Linked DNA regions of Homo sapiens: region 1 is linked to region 2. Evidence: promoter capture Hi-C in 16 types of primary human blood cells and fetal thymus (Javierre and others, 2016). All regions are on one chromosome and are shown on one strand. Each heading gives the region's core, a stretch centred on a gene start or on the middle of the fragment in contact. The rest is flanking DNA. Distances are from core to core; before and after follow the strand shown.

The links. The method cuts DNA at HindIII sites, captures the fragments that hold promoters and counts their contacts. A CHiCAGO score of 5 or more calls a contact.
Region 1: a fragment that was not itself captured here is called in contact with the fragment with the promoter of MARCHF3 in region 2 in 1 of 17 cell types (neutrophils); the score reaches 5.1 in neutrophils.

Annotation. Positions count from the first base shown.
Region 1 is chr5:124,645,163-124,650,003 of GRCh38, forward strand. It overlaps ZNF608 (zinc finger protein 608), which reads right to left. Exons shown (of 10, transcript NM_020747.3): 4 at 4,448-4,535; 5 at 1,517-3,971. Among named protein-coding and RNA genes, the nearest start is that of ZNF608, 99 kb to the right of the region's middle. RefSeq lists an enhancer at 3,351-3,859. The HindIII fragment of the contact is 7,804 bases long and covers 1-4,841 here.
Region 2 is chr5:127,028,915-127,033,709 of GRCh38, forward strand. MARCHF3 (membrane associated ring-CH-type finger 3) reads right to left here and starts at 1,644. Exons shown (of 5, transcript NM_178450.5): 1 at 1,436-1,644. LOC105379163 (a long non-coding RNA gene) reads left to right here and starts at 2,429. Exons shown (of 2, transcript XR_007058920.1): 1 at 2,429-4,795. RefSeq lists a silencer at 1,606-1,985 and an enhancer at 1,982-2,526. The HindIII fragment of the contact is 7,560 bases long and covers 1-4,781 here.

The sequences.
Region 1 (4,841 bases), core at 1,648-4,147, 2.4 Mb before region 2:
GGTTTCCTAATACATTTTCCTCATCTACTGCAGCTGAGGCTTAATATATTGGCTCACTTCTCATTACGTGTTAACATCTTAATCAAAACAAAATTTCAAATTAATAGCACACGTTATGGCTTCTCTATTGGAAAACAAAGCCATCTATCTATAAACCCCCAAAATTATATAAATCTTCTGCAGCCCTGTGAATTGACAGCCTGATTTATGCCTCTGTAAGTGGGGAAACTGAGAATCCTAAATGGCCTTTGTGATCCCCATCCCATTCATGATATAAACCCACTGGGGATTCAGGTTCTCAGAGAACATGCAAAGTTGTGCCTAAGTAAATGTGTGTGTGTGGGTGGCGGTGGTGGGGGCTGGTGGTTCTTGCTCTAATGCACCAGGGATTATCTAAGCATGGGGGTGAGGGTGGGAGTGGGGATGTGCAGTGCTGGGAAATAACCAGGATTAATGCTCACGGGGTTGCAGTGGGTCAGGATGTCTGAACCATGACAGAAGGTGCTAGTACATTTGTGGTTTCGTGGTGACCAATTTTCAGGTGTTCTCAAGCTGACTGACCCATGGGGCTCTGGGACAGCTGTTGAGGCCTGCCACCCAAACCTCCTCACCCTCCTCACAAACATTCAGCACTGAGCTCTGAGTTTTGGGGTACTTAATATAGGGAGTAAGACTGAAATCTAGGCATCTCTGACCCCATGTGAAAGAAATTTGGGCCCCAAATTCTATTAAAAAGATTAATGGGAAATGTGAATTCAGGGACCCAGTTTTTATTATCTTCAAAGAAGATGCTAGTAGAAATTTGAAAATGGAAAATAAATATTTCAGAGATAAGACTCAGAATCTCAGAGTTAGAAGAGAATTCAGCAGCCCCATTGTGGAAAGCCCTCGCCTTGGACTAAGAAATTAAGGGATCCTGGCCAGGCGCGGTGGCTCACGCCTGTAATCCCAGCACTTTGGGAGGCCAGGGTGGGCGGATCATGAGGTCAGGAGATCGAGACCATCTCGCTAACACGGTGAAACCCCATCTCTACTAAAAATACAAAAAATTAGCCGGGCATGGTGGCACGTGCCTGTAGTCCCAGCTACTCAGGAGGCTGACGCAGGAGAATCGCTTGAACGGAGGCGGAGGTTGCAGAGAGCCAAGATTGCACCACTGCACTCCAGCCTGGGTGACAGAGAGAGATTCCGTCTCAAAAAATTTAAAAAATTTAAAAAAAGAAATTAATGGACCTCATCAGAGTCACAGAGCAAGTTAGTGGCATGAAACACAAATCTGCAAAGCACCCATCCACAGTTCCTTTTACTATACACCATGACAAGAAAATACTGATAATGTACATTTTAGAGCTACATAGTAACTCCTGAGAATCTTAAGATATTTTTCAAGAGCAGAGGAAAAAACTAATATGGGTTTCTTTCCTGTGTCAGAAGTCTAACCAGATCAAGCCCAGACATGTATAATACAAGTCTCAGACTGCTCTCTCCCTGTTGGGGCCACGCTCCACAATCTTACTTGTTTAAATCTCGAGGTTGGGTCTACACCTGTCTGCTTCATAGAGTCCATGACAGACTTCATTTCTACAGCCTCCTTAATAAGCTGGTGGTTTTCCATCTGCTTAGCTTTGAAGCTGTCGGCCTGAAGCTGCTGCTGGTGATTGGAGAGAAGCTGCGATTTACCTGTCTCCTCAGTTTTATTAGGCACTGATGGCCCTAGTTTAGAATGGTTTTTGTTAGGCTCCGGAGTAGAGGGAGCTTTTGAGATTGTGGCCGATGGCATATTTTTCTGTTTAGTTTCCTCCTTGCCCAGCTCTTTCAAGGGGAGCTCACTTTTCCTTTCACAGTCTCCTCTCCCAGTCTGGGCCATTTTCTGCTCTGCCAGCCTCTGGTCCTCATAGTACTTCTCATACTGCTGTCTATAGGCAGGGCTGGTGGCCATCAGAGACTTCTGGTCCATATAGAGCCCATATGCATACTGGCCATAATAAAGTGACTGAGCCAGGGCAGGATGTCTTTGTGTGATCACCGACTGGTGCTGAGGCTGTAAGGATGCAGAATTGTGGTCCACTTTCTTAGAATCTAACTGCTCTGCCTTGTCTTTCTTTTCAGCATCTTCCTCAGACTCCTTCTTGATCTTCATTCCCTGCGTGCTCCCACTATTTCCAGCTGCAGGGGCACCGACCTGCCCAGGGTGCATGTAACTTGGAGAATAATAAGGATCATAGCTGTGGTAATAGGGAGAATGGGACTCTTTCAGTTGAGATGATTGTGCTGTAGTTGAAGAATGCCCTTTTACAACACTGTCCTTACTAGAAATAATATCTGATGGGGAACTGGCCTTTGATCTCATACCCTCCGACCTGCTGTCAGAACCACCATCGTCAGCAGCATCAGATATGTCTGAATAGGCCGGGCTGCTTGTCTTTGCAGCTGAACTCTCTGCCCCATTCTGGGTCAACACATGCAGAGGTGCCATTGGTGCCTGCCCGTTCACCAAAGTGCTGCATTCCAGCCTCGAGGCGCTCCCTATGGAAGGGCTGGGAGCGTTGTCTGTGAAAGTGTAAACCTTATCGGCCTCAGCTTTGATACTGGCCATGCGGCTCTCCTGAGACTCCGACAGTCCATTTGCCAGCCCTTCATTCTTGTTGAGATGATCCTTTAAAAAATGCCCAGGTAAATCTTTGCTGGCCCCCTTGGAGTCCTCTAGTTTCCCCAGCTTGGCATCCATTTTTGGGCTTCCCGTCTCTTTCCCTTCTTTGTCCTTTAGCTTTCGCTTCTCCTTTTTCTTTTTGTCTTTGAGTGACACCAGAGCTGGGTTCACGGTGATGGGCTCTCCCATAATTGTGGGCTTTGGTTGAATGGGTTTTAACGGAGGACTCTTTGGTGTAGCCTGAACAACAGTTGTTGTGAGGGAGGGCAGTCCGGGTATTGTCCCAGTGGTGGTCGTTGTAAAGGTTGCAGTGGGTATAGCGATTAGCTGCGGGGGAGTGGGGGCTGGGGCAGGGGCAATGGGCCGGGCACTTTTCAGTTTAGAGAGGTTTTTGTCCGTTTTGCAGTTGGTAGCTTTTTTGCCCTTTTCTTTATCTCCTAAATTTTTCTTGTCAATTAATCCTTCTGCTTCCAGTTTAGGCATCTCAGCAGCCAAACTGCCGTCTGCTGCCGAGCAACTGTCTAACGCAGCCGTCATGTTGGAGATTACTGGAAGGTTGTTCAGTTCATTGTTAAGGCCCTTCTTTTTGCCAGAATTCTTCCCAGCTTTAGCACCAATAATGGAACCTGGGCCATTGCTCATCAGCTCTCTCTTTCCCTTTGGGGTCCCAGGTGGGTTTCCAGCACCAGGGGATGCCGGTGCCTTCAACTGGTCATAAGCAGATACACTTGTGCTTGGCTCACTGCATTCAAGTGCCACATTACTCAATCCTTCCTCACAGTCCGAGATCTTGTCCTCACTGTCAGGCTCGAACTCCAGCTTGTTTTCTGGGTCTAAGTGTGCATGAGCCTGGTGGTACCTCAGGCCGTTAATGTGCTTGTACTTTTTGTTGCAGTTTGGGTGGGGACAGTCGATTAACACTGGAGAAGAGCAGCCTTGGTCCAAAAAAGTAGTCTCTGGTTTCCCTTGAGGGGTAGTGGGAGTGCTTCTGGAATTTGTGCGGACACGCTTTCCAGGCTTATTGTCCTCAGAGCTGGAGTTCAGGTCCAGCTCCATTGGAGGCTTGTTTTTCCTTTTGTTGGTGGAGGAAGGGCTGGCTTTGATATCCTCAGCAGCACAATTTGGGGGTGTCCTTCGTCCGCTGGCATTGAGGCTGCCCCGCCTCCCTTTCCCATTGGCCCCCCCTCTGTTCTTATTCTGCAGCCCTCTGGACTCTGTGAAGCTGGCCTCGGAGCCCGGGGCAGCAGCAGCAGACCTCGCTCTCTTCCCTCTGCCCCGGCCCCCTCTCATCTCCAGGTCACTTGTCGGTGACTCACAAAACCTATGGAAGCAAGTAACAGATGTGAAAATGAGCATCCCCAAAAGAGCCAGGTGAAATCACAAAGTACACAATGCAGTAAAGAGGAGTCAACACTCCAGTAGCTTCAGGGCTGGGCCCAGTCAAGGAAAAGACTGACAATTTCCAACACCTGCAAAAGAACAGGCGACCAAGGGCTTATATTCTTCCTCAGAAAAACCAAAGAAAAACAGCTCAAGTAGCTAGCTTCCAAACCAGTTCAAATTCCCACTTTGAGAAAAAATGAAAACAAAGACAGGAGAGAAGGGGTGGGGAGCAGAGATCTTCTGATAGAAAAGAAATTTAGCATCTGCATTTTACTGCGTTCAATCCTAAATTGCTCATTTCTCCTTTGCCTGGTTTCAATTACAGGCACACTTTTATGTATTATGAATCTCTCTCTACAGTTTCCCTGCAAAGAGAGGATGGGGAAGGAGAGAAATAAAAGGCCCTGTTCATACCTGGGAGGGGCCCAGTCGTGCTTGGTGCAGTCCAGTAGGGTTCCCACGTACGTTTTGTTCCTCCACGTGACATTGACCACTAGGACACCTGCAGGAGGCAGGGGATGAAAAAGGATCATAGTTACCACTGATTACTGTTATTTCCAGTTCACTTATTATTTTTTTCTCTTTTTTTTGCCAGCAAGTTCTATTCTCATTTGCTTTTAAAAGCTGTGGTTTGCATTCTTCCTCTTTCTGGTTTCAGTGACCTCAAGTTAAAACCCACAGGAAATAATGTGTGTTGTGCATTCGTGCGCGTGCGCATGTGGTACAAAGGAGTGAGACTGTGTGTGAGAGTGTAATCAAGATACTGCTGACAGAAGGAAATGGTTTTTGCCATGTCCTGCTGTAAAAC
Region 2 (4,795 bases), core at 394-2,893:
AGGCTCCACCCCAGTGGTCGGACTGAAGTGTACATGTTATGTTTTAACAGATGGGCCGGCTGGCGGCTGCTGGGCTGTAAAACAGGAACGCGGATTCTGCACTGAGTGGTATTGAACTGAACGCTCGTAAAGTTCATGGACATACTCTGACCCAGACAGACCAGGCAGATGCAGACATGCTTACGCATACACACTCACTAACACCCCACAGCTCAGAGGATCCATCTCTGTGACCCAAGGGAAGTTCAAGGCTGAATTTCCCCTTCATATATTTACCTCATTCACCTTTTAATTTTATATATACACACACTCACACATATACACGTATGTATGTGTGTATATGCGCATCTACATCTTCATATACACATACAGAACTATATATCTCAACATTTTCATGTATTTTCAAAGGTCTAAACATCCCCAAATTCTGGACCTGTTTCTGTCTAGTATTTTCAAAAGCTCTTATTCATGTCAAATAAGAATTGTAAGAAAATATCGTATTGAATTCTGTTTATTCCGCACATAATATAAACTACATGCATGTAGTTGGTCTCAGAAAAACAAGCTGCTTTTACCCCCTTACCATTAAGGGGGGAAAACAATCTAACCCAGACCGAGTCACAAACGGAGTGTCAGGTTTAACCTTGAGTTCTCTGCTGTCAATTCCTGACTCAACTTCATCACTTAAACACGCAGGTGCTCAAACAAACACCAACCGACCAGGCTGGCAATCCCTTTCGCAGCCTCTAGGATTCTCCAAGGCACTGGGCACCAGAACCGACAGCAGCTCCCGCCTGGTCCTAACGAAGTCCTTCGGACACCCCTTGCGGGTGGATGTGGAGGTCCGAGCACCTCAGGAGGGTCATGGATTCAAGTGCTAATAGAAAGCAATTACTTTAGAAAGTTCAAAGCCCAGCAGTGCTCTCAATTCCTCTCAGTAGCTGCAGAGCACTGAAGCCCCCGCTACAGAACCCGGCTGGTACTCCAGTTCTCTGGCGCTGAGACCCACCTTGAGCCCGATGAGCGCTCGCTCAGCCTTGAGATCCAGACGCGGACGCCGGGTCTTACCGTACCGCACAGCGCGGGTAATTTTTCAGGAACCGCGGTCCGCACGCCGCGGGCGCGGAGGCCGCCCCAGCGCTCCATGTCGTTGCCGCAGAGGGGCAGGGGACGCGTCCCGGCCCCACCTACCCATGTCAATTACGCCAAGTTGGTGCGGACTGGAACCGCGTCCCGGGCGGAGTTGGGATGCTTTGACAAGAAGAAGTTCGGGAGTGGGGATATTGGCACGGAGTAAATCCCGCCCAGCCCTGACCTCCCCACAGCGGTCACGCTCGGACGAACGGACCGCCGAGCGCCAGGACGCGTCCCGTCCCCTCTCGCCGCCGCCGAACCGCGCCGAGAGGAGCCGCTAGCCCGGCGCGCGGCCACTCACCGTCCTCGCCGAGTCCCGATAGCAAACCGACGTCCCTGCTGCGGTTCTAAGTGCCAAGTTGCCCCCAGTCGGTGGCTGCTCACGGCCCAGTGGACCAGGGCACATTGGTTCCGGCGGGCACCTCAGGGGGAGTGCGGCAAGCCTGGCGGCCGCCGCGGCCACACAGTCGCCCACAGCGCGCTGACAATTCACGGACCTGCTCAACGAGTGAGGCGGAAAGCAGGGCTAAGCCGACCAGGCTCTGGAGGGGAGGCGGGGCTGCCGCTAGGGGCGGAGCCAGCCCCGGGGCGTCATCAGCCCATGACTGGCGGAGCCGACAGCCAGTCGTGGTGGCGCTGGGACCGCCCCGTAACCGCCGTCCAGTCGCCTGCGGCCGAGGGCAGGCTGGCGGGACGCGCCGGCGGCGGGGAAGTTGGTTATTGCGAAGTGCCGTGGCTGCCGGCGGGCGCTGCGGGACTCTCTGCAATGGGACCCGAGCAGCTCTAGAGGGAGGCGGCGGCCCCAGAAGGCCGTTGGCTGAGAGAGACCAGGAGCCCTCGGAGCCGCCGCGCGCATAGCGCTGTGGAGCAAGAAGCCAACCGCAGCGCGGGTCGACACGCCAGTATCTGGCACCGGCAGGAGGCGCGGAACTTAGCTGCCCCATCGGAACCCCGCCCGGAGGAAGCTGAGGGCCGAGAAAGGATGAATTCCGGACCGGGTCGCCCAGCCACAAGTGGAAACCTGGGCTCTCTGGAAAACGTTCTGATCTCGATCTGGCTATCTCTGAAACAAAACTCCAGCCCCGCAAACCTCCCAAAGTTCAGTACACGTCCCCGTCCTCACCCCTGCCCTCCGGGCCACCTGCAGCGGGGGACTTACCGGCGCCTCGGGTCTCCTCCTCCCGACCCAGCGCGTCGCGGACACAGCTGGCGGCCAACAGGAGGCTTGGGCGCTCGACGGCGCCGGAACCTGTGAGACCGTCGCTCTGGGCGGGCTGCCGTGCGGGGTGGCATCCTCTGCGGTGACTTCTGCTGTCTTTTGGGTCCGCCAGGATTCCAAAATCCCAGGCGGGTCGCTAGAATTATCCATCTTCGTGGACAGGAAGCCCCAGAACGAACCACATCTGTCCCACTCTGCTTCCGCCCTCCTTCCCCTTCGCAAGCTCCTGGCTGGGATGGAGACATCGGACGAGCTCGGAGATCCCGACCTCTCAGGGGTCACTCGCAGCCGAACAGCCTGGAATATGGCCTTGTGGGCCCTTCCCGCCCAACCCCCTAGGACCCCACTGCTCATCTTGTCAACCAGTTTCTGAGCCCCTACCCTGGCTGCAGCACGTGCTCGCACAGGCGCGCTGAGCTACTAACATAGAATCAAAAGCAGGGAGTTGGGTGTTCTTGCTTTCCCGCTGAAACCTAGAATGTAAACAAGCCCTAGACCGTCAGCTGTGGGTGGGTAGGGGCCTCTCCCTGCCTAGAACTGCTCTTGCCATGGGTAGGCACCTAACCCGTATTAGTAAGAATGAAGGAATGCATGCTCATAACAAGAAAGGGGTCAACCTGCTGCCCTGATACTCACCTTCACCACTTACGTCTTGCTTCCAGCGCAAGCCCACTTCAGACCATTGCCTCATTCAGGTCCCAGAAGTCCTAAGGGTTTTAGTCTCTCAGTATGGGCAATTATTCACATGTAAGGGAGCTGCAAGGTGTTATTTCAATGCCATCTGGCCTCTATAAGGTCTTGCATCATAGCTGACCTCTCATGAGAAGGTTCTGATGAGGTCACCAGGGAGAAGGAATGTAAAGGGCTGGTGGCTGAAAAGGAGTGAAATGGCCCCTCTTAGGTGAGCTCTGGCCTGGTTTGAGTTTCAATTCTGTCTCCTCAGCTCCATTTCTCAATGGGAAAAGGTCCATAGGAAGGTTGTCAGAAGGGCAGGAGACTAGGGCAGGGATAGCCCTTTGCAGACCCTGAAAAATTGCTCAGTAATGCAAACATTGTCCATATTTAAGTTCTTTCTTTTCTTTTCTTTTTTTTTTGAGGCAGAGTCTCACTCTGTCGCCCAGGCTGGAGTGCTATGGCTTGGCTCACTGCAAGCTCCGCCTCCTGGGTTCACGCCATTCTCCTGCCTCAGCCTCCCAAGTAGCTGGGACTACAGGCGCCCGCCACTACGCCCGGCTAATTTTTCGTATTTTCAGTAGAGACGGGGTTTCACCGTGTTAATCAGGATGGTCTCGATCTCCTGACCTTGTGATCCGCCCGCCTCGGCCTCCCAAAGTGCTGGGATTAGAGGCGTGAGCCACTGCGCCCAGCCTTAAGTTCTTTATTTTCTATCTTGTGGACCAAAGGACTGCTACAGGCAAGGAAGACCATCTGACTCAATTCCAGAGGTTCCTTAGCATGCTGCTGACTGGCCTAGGAGAATGGCCTTTGCCCATAAAGTATTAGATGTAGACCACATGAATGGAATATTCACCAGGTTTCTGCCCAGGTCTGGATTGGGCAAGGACATGGCTGGAGGTGCCTTACAGGAGAGAAGGCCAAAGAGAGAGAAGACTTGACTCCCAACCTGATTCCAGCAGAACTCCACTTTGATGTGTTTTTAAAATTGTGCTCTTCTGTTTGCTTTCACGGAGGCTGCCATGAAACGTCATCTTTGACTAGAATTATCAGGAAATGCTCATGGAAGAAATATACTTCCTTGGATTTTTTTTCCTACCACACTTCAGGATATAACTAGAGAAAACATTTGCCAACAGTGCTTATCATATTAGTACCCTGTGAAGGTTTTCATAGATGCTGATTATTATTTTTAAAATCATTTCGGGAATAGGAGCCAAACACTAGGTCATGACTGTACTTACTTTAGTATTTACATTAAGTGATGAAAAATGGAAATAAAGGAAATGTCCTGTCATGAAACAAGTTAGAATTAGGTGACTTTCATGTCCTGATTTCCAAGGTTTTCTGTTTGTTTCAGACAGACAAGATCATCCATGGGTTCTTGGACAAGTAATAGGTCTCATTTTCCCTTGTAGACCAGAAGACATGGAAAAGACAGCATATTCGGACTATATTCATATTTCCATACCATCTTTTGTTGTAATTGATTTTCAACAAGAGCCCCTAACAATCTCTTGAGTTTGGGCCATCCCCATATTCTACAAGGGAAAATGAGATCTCTTACTACTCCAATAACCCATGCTTACACTATCTGTATGGAACAAACAGAGAACCATCAAAATCTGAACGCAGAAGTCACTTATTTAGTCCCAATCTATTTTGTGAAAGAAAATTTCTTTTACTCAAAGAGATGAAGAAATTTACGGAATGGCTTGGGAATGAGAAGATTCAGGTGGGACCATGGAAGCAAAGCTTGTTCTTTTG